Regions from separate parts of the Homo sapiens genome. Here region 1 is linked to region 2. Evidence: promoter capture Hi-C in human tissues and cell types (Jung and others, 2019). All regions are on one chromosome and are shown on one strand. Each heading gives the region's core, a stretch centred on a gene start or on the middle of the fragment in contact. The rest is flanking DNA. Distances are from core to core; before and after follow the strand shown.

Evidence for each region. Contacts are between HindIII fragments. The study calls those that stand out against the background at their distance.
Region 1: a contact is called between a fragment that was not itself captured here and the fragment with the promoter of SLC35A2 in region 2, in 1 of the 25 tissues and cell types used here (spleen).

What each region holds. Positions count from the first base shown.
Region 1 is chrX:49,257,878-49,263,216 of GRCh38, reverse strand. It overlaps FOXP3 (forkhead box P3), which reads left to right. Exons shown (of 12, transcript NM_014009.4): 2 at 4,690-4,921. The coding sequence starts at 4,712. Among named protein-coding and RNA genes, the nearest start is that of FOXP3, 4.2 kb to the left of the region's middle. The HindIII fragment of the contact is 7,509 bases long and covers 246-5,339 here.
Region 2 is chrX:48,910,396-48,914,951 of GRCh38, reverse strand. SLC35A2 (solute carrier family 35 member A2) reads left to right here and starts at 3,306. Exons shown (of 5, transcript NM_005660.3): 1 at 3,306-3,406. The coding sequence starts at 3,316. PIM2 (Pim-2 proto-oncogene, serine/threonine kinase) reads left to right here. Exons shown (of 6, transcript NM_006875.4): 5 at 381-557; 6 at 658-1,770. The coding sequence ends at 821. RefSeq lists enhancers at 623-672, 2,363-2,412, 3,653-3,702 and a silencer at 4,063-4,112. The HindIII fragment of the contact is 19,848 bases long and covers 1-4,556 here.

The DNA.
Region 1 (5,339 bases), core at 2,751-5,250, 350 kb before region 2:
TTTACTATTCATTGGCCATTCATGCTTTTTTTTTTTTTTTTTTGGTTGTCTGGTCATGTCCTTACTCCTAATAGGGTGTTCATCTTATTTTTCCCTTATTGATTTGCCACAGCTCTTTATTTGGAATGGTTATTAACCTTTCATCAGCCATTACATATATAGCAAATATTTTCCCCAATTCATCATTTGCTTTTTTTCTATTTGTTTATGGTGTTTTTTGTGATGCTTATGATGGTTTTATACAGTCAAATAGGTTAGTCTTTTTTTCTGTGGCTTCTGTCTCTGGTTTTGTGCTTAGAAAGTCCTTTCCTACTTGAAAATGAGATAAATGTTCACCTATGTTGGCTTCTAGTCTCTTTTATGGCTTCATTTTTTCCATTTACTATAGAGGTTAAGAGTGTGGGTACTGGAGCCAGACTGTCTGGGACAAACCCAGCGTCACCCCAAGCCCTATGTGTGATTTTTAGCCAGGCACTTAACCTCTCCATACCTCCATTTCCTCATATGTACTGCAATGGTTATAATAGTACCTTCCTCAGGAGTCTTTGTTTAGATTAAAATTTTTAACCACAGTAAATACTTAGCACAAGGCCTGACACACAATAAACCCAAGATCAGCATTAGGTGTTAAAACTTATATCTTGAATGGATCTGGGCATTTTAGGGTATATGATGATGGTGACATTTCAAACTGGGCAGGGAGGGGTTGTTGGGATAATGGACTGACTATTCACTCAATAACTTTATCTTCTCCCTAATTATCTCAGACACATTTGTTAAACCATACTCCATGGTCCTCCAGTTTGAAATGCCACATTCATCACAAATTCAGTTCTCTCCATATGTGGGTCCATGTCCAAGCTTTCTATTCTGTTCTCTTCCCCAGTATCTGTTCTTATACCAGGGCCACACTGTTTTGCTGATTGTTGCTTTGCAATACAATTCAATACCCAGCCATGGGTGTCCCTGGCACCTTGCCCTTCTTTATTCTTGATTATTTCAGGCAGCATCAGTTGAACCAGCCAGAGACCAGCAAATGTTCTTATTTGAGGCAATCCTCCTCTCGCACACATGCACTCTGGCTCTCCATGCATGTGTCCATTTCTCTCAATGTCTCTCACTATCTCTTGTTCTCTCTTGCTCGCTCTTTGTGTGTGTCTCTTTGTCTCTATGTATCCCTATCTCTCAGCCAGTCCCCTGGATAGAGGGGCAATTGTCAACTTGAAGCCCTGCAGACACCTAATGACTTAACCAGACAGCGTAGAAGGGCCCTGGCCCTTGTCTACTCCACGCCTCTCCGTGCTCAGTGTAGAAGGGCAAATTGAAGACCAGAGATCTCAGGGCCTCACCGAAATGCAGCGGCAGAGTTGAAATCCAAGCCTAGATCTCAGGACTCTAGGTGGGACCCTGGTTCTGGCTCTCTCCCCAACTGCAGGCCTCAGTTTACCCCTCAGCACCCAGAAGGGGGAAGGGGAACCTGGGCTACCATTCCCCCTTCTGCCTTCTCACACGTTGGACCCCAACTTCCCACAGGTTGGACGATCCACGATCACAGTGTGGGGCCCAGCCTCACAAGAGCTGGGCTAGGTGAGGCCCCGGACTCCATAGGTCAGGAGGCCTAGTTGGCCAGAGCGTGGTGATGATGGAGGCATGTCAGTCAGTCAGGCTGTGTGTCCCCAGAGCTGGTGCTGGTCCCCGAAAACCTTGATTGTGGGGCCCCTCTAGAGAGTCTGATGATGGGCTCTGTATTGGCGAAGGCTGAGGCTTTTCCAGCTCCCCCCATGAGGCCCAGACCAAAGGCACACCAGCCTCAACCTCCTCCTCCCCCTGTTGCCATCTCTGGCGGAGTGGCCATGTATTTGGGAACGTTGTTCCAGAGTGGACAGGGAGACTGAGGCCCTAGGGAGGCTGGCTCTGTTTCCAGGCCTGGTAGGCAAGAGGCCCTATGAAGCAGCAAGCTGCCTGACTTTCAGATGGTTCCAAGGAGTTTGGACACCAGGGACACTGGCCTACACATACTGAGACTTTGGGACCGTAGACCCCACAGTCTGTGGTTTTGAGATTCTAGGATCCTTTAAATCTAAGAAATGCTGTTCTATGATTCTGAGGTCCTGGTGTTATACTATTTGAAGACCCCAGGGGTCCCAGTATCTGTGGAGCCTGCCTGGCACTCTCAGAGCTTCAAACCTGGGTCCTCTCCACAACCCAAGAAGGGCCAGGTCTTCAGAGCTAGGGGCTTGTCATAGTGGCCAGATGGACATCACCTACCACATCCACCAGCACCCATGTCACCCCACCTGGGCCAAGCCTGCTGCAGGACAGGGCAGCCAGTTCTCGGAACGAAACCTGTGGGGTGGGGTATCTGCCCTCTTCTCTTCCTCCGTGGTGTCGATGAAGCCCGGCGCATCCGGCCGCCATGACGTCAATGGCGGAAAAATCTGGGCAAGTCGGGGGCTGTGACAACAGGGCCCAGATGCAGACCCCGATATGAAAACATAATCTGTGTCCCAGAAACATCCCCCATTCAGCTTCTGAGAAACCCAGTCAGAAAGGGACGTCCCAACAGACAGTGCAGGAAGCCGGCTGCCCAGCCCGGCCCTCTAGGTCCTCTACCCCCAGACAGATCATCTCCATGTCCCTGTCTGAGAATGTATCTATGCTTTGCTGAGTCAGGCCATCCCACATGTGTTTGGGGAGAATTCTTAGCTCTGGCCAAGTGTCCAGGCAGCTTCAGAAGTGACCACAGGCCAGCCACATGGGCCAGGCCAGAGTGGTGGAAAACATCCATTTGCACCGAAATCGGTATTAGTTTGTTCTGGCTGCTATAACAAAGTACCACAACTGAGTGGCTTCAGCAACAGAAATTGATCATCTCACAGTTCTGGAGGCCAGAGTCCAAGATCAAGGTGTTGCCAGGGTTGGTTCCTTCTGGGGGCCATAAGGGAGAAGCTGCTCCAGGCCTCTCCCCCAGCTTCTGGTGGTTGCTGGCAATCTTTGTTATTTCTTGGCTTGAAGGAGCATCACCCCATCTCTGGCTTCATTCATTCACTCACCTTCTCATCTCACCAGTGCTCTCCCAGGCCCTTGTTCGGAGCCTCCACAGACCCACACTCCTGTTTCTCACGCAGTAATGTTCTAAGCCCCCAGGAGACTAAGAACTTAATACCTGGATTCTCACACTCATCTCCCTCAGCACCACAGCTCTGACAACCACCCCCAGGAGGTGACAGCAAAGAAAGGAAGGAGCAACTGCTCCCCCAGAACCCTTCTATACTCCCCCGGGCTGCTCTCAGCAGCTGTGTGCCCAACTCAGTGCTGTGAGGTGGAACGGGGAGATGGAGACACACACACACACACACCAGAGAGTTTATAAAATGTGCACACGGAAACACTTCCTAAAGAAAGAAGTGGAGTTCTCAAGTCACTATGGGACTACGGAACTCGGCATCTGAGCATCCCCTTCTGTATAATGGGGTTGGCTGGGCAGTCCCTTCCAGCTCTGGCTTCCTCTCAGACCAGGATTATAGGATCCTGAAAAGCCAGTGCTTCCCTCAGGGAGTGGAAGGTTCTGGGGCTCAGCAGGGGGCCCGGAGCCATTGTGGAGGGCTTTCAAGGTGAGGACAATAGAAGAGCAGGTCTTGCGTGGCTTGGACAGGGAAAGAGGAGAAGGAGTGGGCATTTGAGGCAGGGGGTGTAGCATGAGCCAGGCTTGAGGGCCAGAAATTGGGGTGAACTCTGATGGGGGCTGGGTAGAGAAGCTTCTACAGGCCCCAGCTCAAGAGACCCCATCTCTCCTCCTCTCTGTCACTTGCCATGCTGGATCCGTGCATGATCACACTCCTGGACTCGCCTCCTTGCCCTGAGATCCAGACCCCCGTATTCAGCTGCCCCCTCAGCTCCTCCACTCACATATTTAATGCCAGACTCTTCATGTCTATCTACACCTGCACTTTTGCACCCAATCCAACTCCCCGCCATGTCCCCCATCTCAGGTAATGTCAGCTCGGTCCTTCCAGCTGCTCAAGCTAAAACCCATGTCACTTTGACTCTCCCTCTTGCCCACTACATCCAAGCTGCTAGCACTGCTCCTGATCCAGCTTCAGATTAAGTCTCAGAATCTACCCACTTCTCGCCTTCTCCACTGCCACCAGCCCATTCTGTGCCAGCATCATCACTTGCCAGGACTGTTACAATAGCCTCCTCACTAGCCCCACTCACAGCAGCCAGATGAATCTTTTGAGTCCATGCCTAGTCACTGGGGCAAAATAGGACTCCGAGGAGAAAGTCCGAGACCAGCTCCGGCAAGATGAGCAAACACAGCCTGTGCAGGGTGCAGGGAGGGCTAGAGGCCTGAGGCTTGAAACAGCTCTCAAGTGGAGGGGGAAACAACCATTGCCCTCATAGAGGACACATCCACACCAGGGCTGTGCTAGCGTGGGCAGGCAAGCCAGGTGCTGGACCTCTGCACGTGGGGCATGTGTGGGTATGTACATGTACCTGTGTTCTTGGTGTGTGTGTGTGTGTGTGTGTGTGTGTGTGTCTAGAGCTGGGGTGCAACTATGGGGCCCCTCGGGACATGTCCCAGCCAATGCCTGCTTTGACCAGAGGAGTGTCCACGTGGCTCAGGTGGTCGAGTATCTCATACCGCCCTAGCACACGTGTGACTCCTTTCCCCTATTGTCTACGCAGCCTGCCCTTGGACAAGGACCCGATGCCCAACCCCAGGCCTGGCAAGCCCTCGGCCCCTTCCTTGGCCCTTGGCCCATCCCCAGGAGCCTCGCCCAGCTGGAGGGCTGCACCCAAAGCCTCAGACCTGCTGGGGGCCCGGGGCCCAGGGGGAACCTTCCAGGGCCGAGATCTTCGAGGCGGGGCCCATGCCTCCTCTTCTTCCTTGAACCCCATGCCACCATCGCAGCTGCAGGTGAGGCCCTGGGCCCAGGATGGGGCAGGCAGGGTGGGGTACCTGGACCTACAGGTGCCGACCTTTACTGTGGCACTGGGCGGGAGGGGGGCTGGCTGGGGCACAGGAAGTGGTTTCTGGGTCCCAGGCAAGTCTGTGACTTATGCAGATGTTGCAGGGCCAAGAAAATCCCCACCTGCCAGGCCTCAGAGATTGGAGGCTCTCCCCGACCTCCCAATCCCTGTCTCAGGAGAGGAGGAGGCCGTATTGTAGTCCCATGAGCATAGCTATGTGTCCCCATCCCCATGTGACAAGAGAAGAGGACTGGGGCCAAGTAGGTGAGGTGACAGGGCTGAGGCCAGCTCTGCAACTTATTAGCTGTTTGATCTTTAAAAAGTTACTCGATCTCCATGAGCCTCAGTTTCCATACGTGTAAAAG
Region 2 (4,556 bases), core at 2,057-4,556:
GTGGTGGGGTGTCCTGTAATCCTTGACCCATACTGCATTATATAAGATGATCGATTGCTAATACTGGGGATTCTCAGCCTTGCCCTCTGATAAAGTCCATCTTTTAATGGTGTGCTAACCTTATTCTGGGCTCCTATTCTGGTGAGGGGATCCTGTTACCATCCTGAGTATTCTTTCTCTGGTAAGGGGATCCTGTTACTTTTCAGTGCTTTTATTCTGTTGAGGGGACTCTGTTATTTTAGCTGCTTTTTATCTAGTGAGGGGACTCTGCTTTTATCTTGAGTGCTCTTAATTGTGGTGAGGCCATCCTTCCTGGAGAGTTTGGGGTTGGAGAAGGGCATCATGAGATTGAGTTGGTCTAACCCCTGGCTTGTGTGCAGGGACAAGGGTGTACAGCCCCCCAGAGTGGATCTCTCGACACCAGTACCATGCACTCCCGGCCACTGTCTGGTCACTGGGCATCCTCCTCTATGACATGGTGTGTGGGGACATTCCCTTTGAGAGGGACCAGGAGATTCTGGAAGCTGAGCTCCACTTCCCAGCCCATGTCTCCCCAGGTGAGGCCTCACTGACCCCAGCCCAGAAGACTCCATCCTTCTCAGGGACCAGTACCCCCTACTGACTGCTAATCTTCCCTCTCTGCTTCTTGGCCTACAGACTGCTGTGCCCTAATCCGCCGGTGCCTGGCCCCCAAACCTTCTTCCCGACCCTCACTGGAAGAGATCCTGCTGGACCCCTGGATGCAAACACCAGCCGAGGATGTACCCCTCAACCCCTCCAAAGGAGGCCCTGCCCCTTTGGCCTGGTCCTTGCTACCCTAAGCCTGGCCTGGCCTGGCCTGGCCCCCAATGGTCAGAAGAGCCATCCCATGGCCATGTCACAGGGATAGATGGACATTTGTTGACTTGGTTTTACAGGTCATTACCAGTCATTAAAGTCCAGTATTACTAAGGTAAGGGATTGAGGATCAGGGGTTAGAAGACATAAACCAAGTCTGCCCAGTTCCCTTCCCAATCCTACAAAGGAGCCTTCCTCCCAGAACCTGTGGTCCCTGATTCTGGAGGGGGAACTTCTTGCTTCTCATTTTGCTAAGGAAGTTTATTTTGGTGAAGTTGTTCCCATTCTGAGCCCCGGGACTCTTATTCTGATGATGTGTCACCCCACATTGGCACCTCCTACTACCACCACACAAACTTAGTTCATATGCTCTTACTTGGGCAAGGGTGCTTTCCTTCCAATACCCCAGTAGCTTTTATTTTAGTAAAGGGACCCTTTCCCCTAGCCTAGGGTCCCATATTGGGTCAAGCTGCTTACCTGCCTCAGCCCAGGATTCTTTATTCTGGGGGAGGTAATGCCCTGTTGTTACCCCAAGGCTTCTTTTTTTTTTTTTTTTTTTTGGGTGAGGGGACCCTACTCTGTTATCCCAAGTGCTCTTATTCTGGTGAGAAGAACCTTACTTCCATAATTTGGGAAGGAATGGAAGATGGACACCACCGGACACCACCAGACACTAGGATGGGATGGATGGTTTTTTGGGGGATGGGCTAGGGGAAATAAGGCTTGCTGTTTGTTCTCCTGGGGCGCTCCCTCCAACTTTTGCAGATTCTTGCAACCTCCTCCTGAGCCGGGATTGTCCAATTACTAAAATGTAAATAATCACGTATTGTGGGGAGGGGAGTTCCAAGTGTGCCCTCCTCTCTTCTCCTGCCTGGATTATTTAAAAAGCCATGTGTGGAAACCCACTATTTAATAAAAGTAATAGAATCAGAAGCGGCTGGCCATTTGTAGGTGTGAGGCTTTTATGGAGCATCTACTGTGCACTGAGACAGACTGTCCCTCTGCTTTGTCCTCAGGAAGCCACAGTCTTATGTTGCCATCCTAAAGAGCTTTAAGGATTCTTGAAGCTGCACCACACACACACAAAAAAATCTTGATTCCCCTGCCCCTGATCTTATGCAGTGCCCAGTATGTGCAGAAGGGTTCTCTGTTGGAGATACTGTGCATATTGAAGGTGTTTAGGGCACATCCCCAATCAAGATGGCTATCTCAGAAGCAGAAAAACTACCTTCCCTGGCACCCCAGGGGAATGAAGAAGCCCTTTCCCCTGTTGCAGAAGAAAAGCCCTGTCAGGGTACTGGCCAGGGCGGGGCTGGGGTTGGGCGCTGACTGGAATCTGTCCAGGGTGTAGTCACCTGTTTTGCTCTTTATCTTTAGCCTCTTCCCCCATCTTTACCCTTACATACCCATCCCTCTAATTTCTCCTTCAACACTTGACTTACCTGGCCTACCCTATTCCATGTTGGTTTCACTTGTTCCGACCTGAGTTGTTCCCTCTCTTGCCCTGCTTATTTGTCTCGGTTCAGTATAAACTCCGCCTTCCGGGTTCCAGCGGTTCTCCTGCCTCAGCCTCCAGAGTAGCTGGGTACAGGTGCATACCACTAAGCCCGGGTAATTTTTTTTTTTTATTTGAGACGGGGTTTTGTCGTTTTGCCCAGGCTGGAACTCCTGAGCTCAGGTGATCGCCCGGCTCAGCCTCCCAAAGTGCTGGGATTACAGGCGTGAGCCACCGCCTCTGGCCCGGACTCTTGCCCTGCTTCCAAATGCTAGCTAACCTGTGAGCCTTTCGCCTGTCCCCTTTGCCATCCTCAGTGGTGACTCACTTGTCTTCCCTTATGTGCGTCAACTTTCCTTTGCATTTTCACTTGTTTATCCTCACCTGCTCTGCTTTTATCTGCTAGCTTAACATTCCTGACTCGCACCTGATGCCAGTACGCCCTCACCCCGACCCCGCCAGGTCAAAGTTTCTTCGTCCCCAGATTCCCGTGTGCTCTCCAGGGGGCGAGGCCTCTCTGGAAGACGGGAAAGCGGAATTTCAGTCCAACCATGAAGCACCTGGTAGTTTCTGATACGGAAAGGGCGGCGCCTTATGGAGAAGCTGCCAATAAAGAGCCGAGATGAAAGGGGTGGCTGAACCAATGAGTCTAGGAGACAAGATCGGGGGATGATCTGGAAAGCGCGATCAGTGAAGCGGACGAACGGCAGGATAAGGCGGGTCTAGTGACAGGAATGGGCCGATGAAGCTCTGTAGGGATGGTGGGTAGGCCGATCGGGCCGTGTCCCCGGCCTCCCGATCCGACGGAATTTGGAAATCCCGGGGCTATTCATACATTGAGCTTTTAGGAGCGGAGGAGAAAAGCCACCACCCTGACGATCCCGGCTCTCGCTCCACCTTCACTCAGGTGGCCCGGCAGCGGAAGTGACGAACGCGGAAGTGGTTTTTCTGTTGCCGAGGGGACGGGCCGGGCAGATGCCAACATGGCAGCGGTTGGGGCTGGTGGTTCCACCGCGGCGCCCGGGCCAGGGGCGGTTTCCGCGGGTGCATTGGAGCCGGGGACCGCCAGTGCGGGTGAGACAGTCTGCCCGAGCAGTCGCATGGGAGGCGGAGGTCGGGATCGCTGGGAGTCGGGAATGTTCCTCACTAAAGTGAGAGGGAGCATCCCGTGTGGACCGACGTGTGTGTGTGTGTGTGTGTGCACATTGTCAGTGTGTTGGGGGCGGGGAAGAGAACATTCTGAGAGTGATTGTGGGATCCTTCCGCATATGGAGAGTAGAGACCATTGTGAGTGTGGTGGGTAATTCTTTTTGGGAAGGCTAAGGCCACCGAAACCATTCTGAATATGTGGAGTCCTTCCGTGTGGAAGAGACCATTCTGCGGGTGTGGGAGTTCCTCACTGAAGAAGGGGGAGACTATTCTGAGGGTGGTGGTTCCTTCCTTATAAAGGGACAGAGACTATTGTGAGTTAGGGTGGGGCGAGTCCTTCTTTATGTGACTAGAGAGGGTCCATTTTGAGGATGGGGGTGTCTTTCATTATGTGCGGAGGAGACCGTTCTGGGGGCTCCCTCCTAATGGAGGTAGAGTTCATTGTACATTCGGGTGGGAGGGCTCATCGTTATATGGTGGAGAAAGAACGTTCTGAGAGTGCCGGGTCCTTCCTTATAGCAGAGAGAGCTCATTGTGAGTGTGGGTAGAGCAAGGAAAAATTCATTAGCTAGAGGGTCCGTGTGCGGTGGTGGGAGGGCAGACCATGTGGAGTGCAGGGAAGTATTTCCTCATCTGGTTGAGGGAGCCAGACCTTTCTTGGTGGGATAACCATTCCTGATACAGGATTCAGTCCCTGGGAGCATGTGGGAATCATTTCTTGTATTTAGTAGACTATTCTGGTTCGAGAGGAACCAGTTGTCACAGGAGTGAGGGGTTGGAGAGACCATTCTGGGTATGAGGAGGATCATTCCATATGGGATGTAGGCCATTCTCAGTGTGAGGGAATCGAATCATTTCTTAGATAGGAGAAAGACCGTTCTTAGGGGGTGAACATACCTCATACAGTGGCCTCATTCCCTGCATTGATGTGTTATTCTTTACATGAGACAGTCCCTCATTAAACAGGAGCATCATTTCATATAAATTCTCAGTTTGCTAATCCATAAATGGGAATCCTCGCAGTTCTTTTGGAGATGACAGTGATATGAGTCTATTGAGGTAATCCATAGAAATC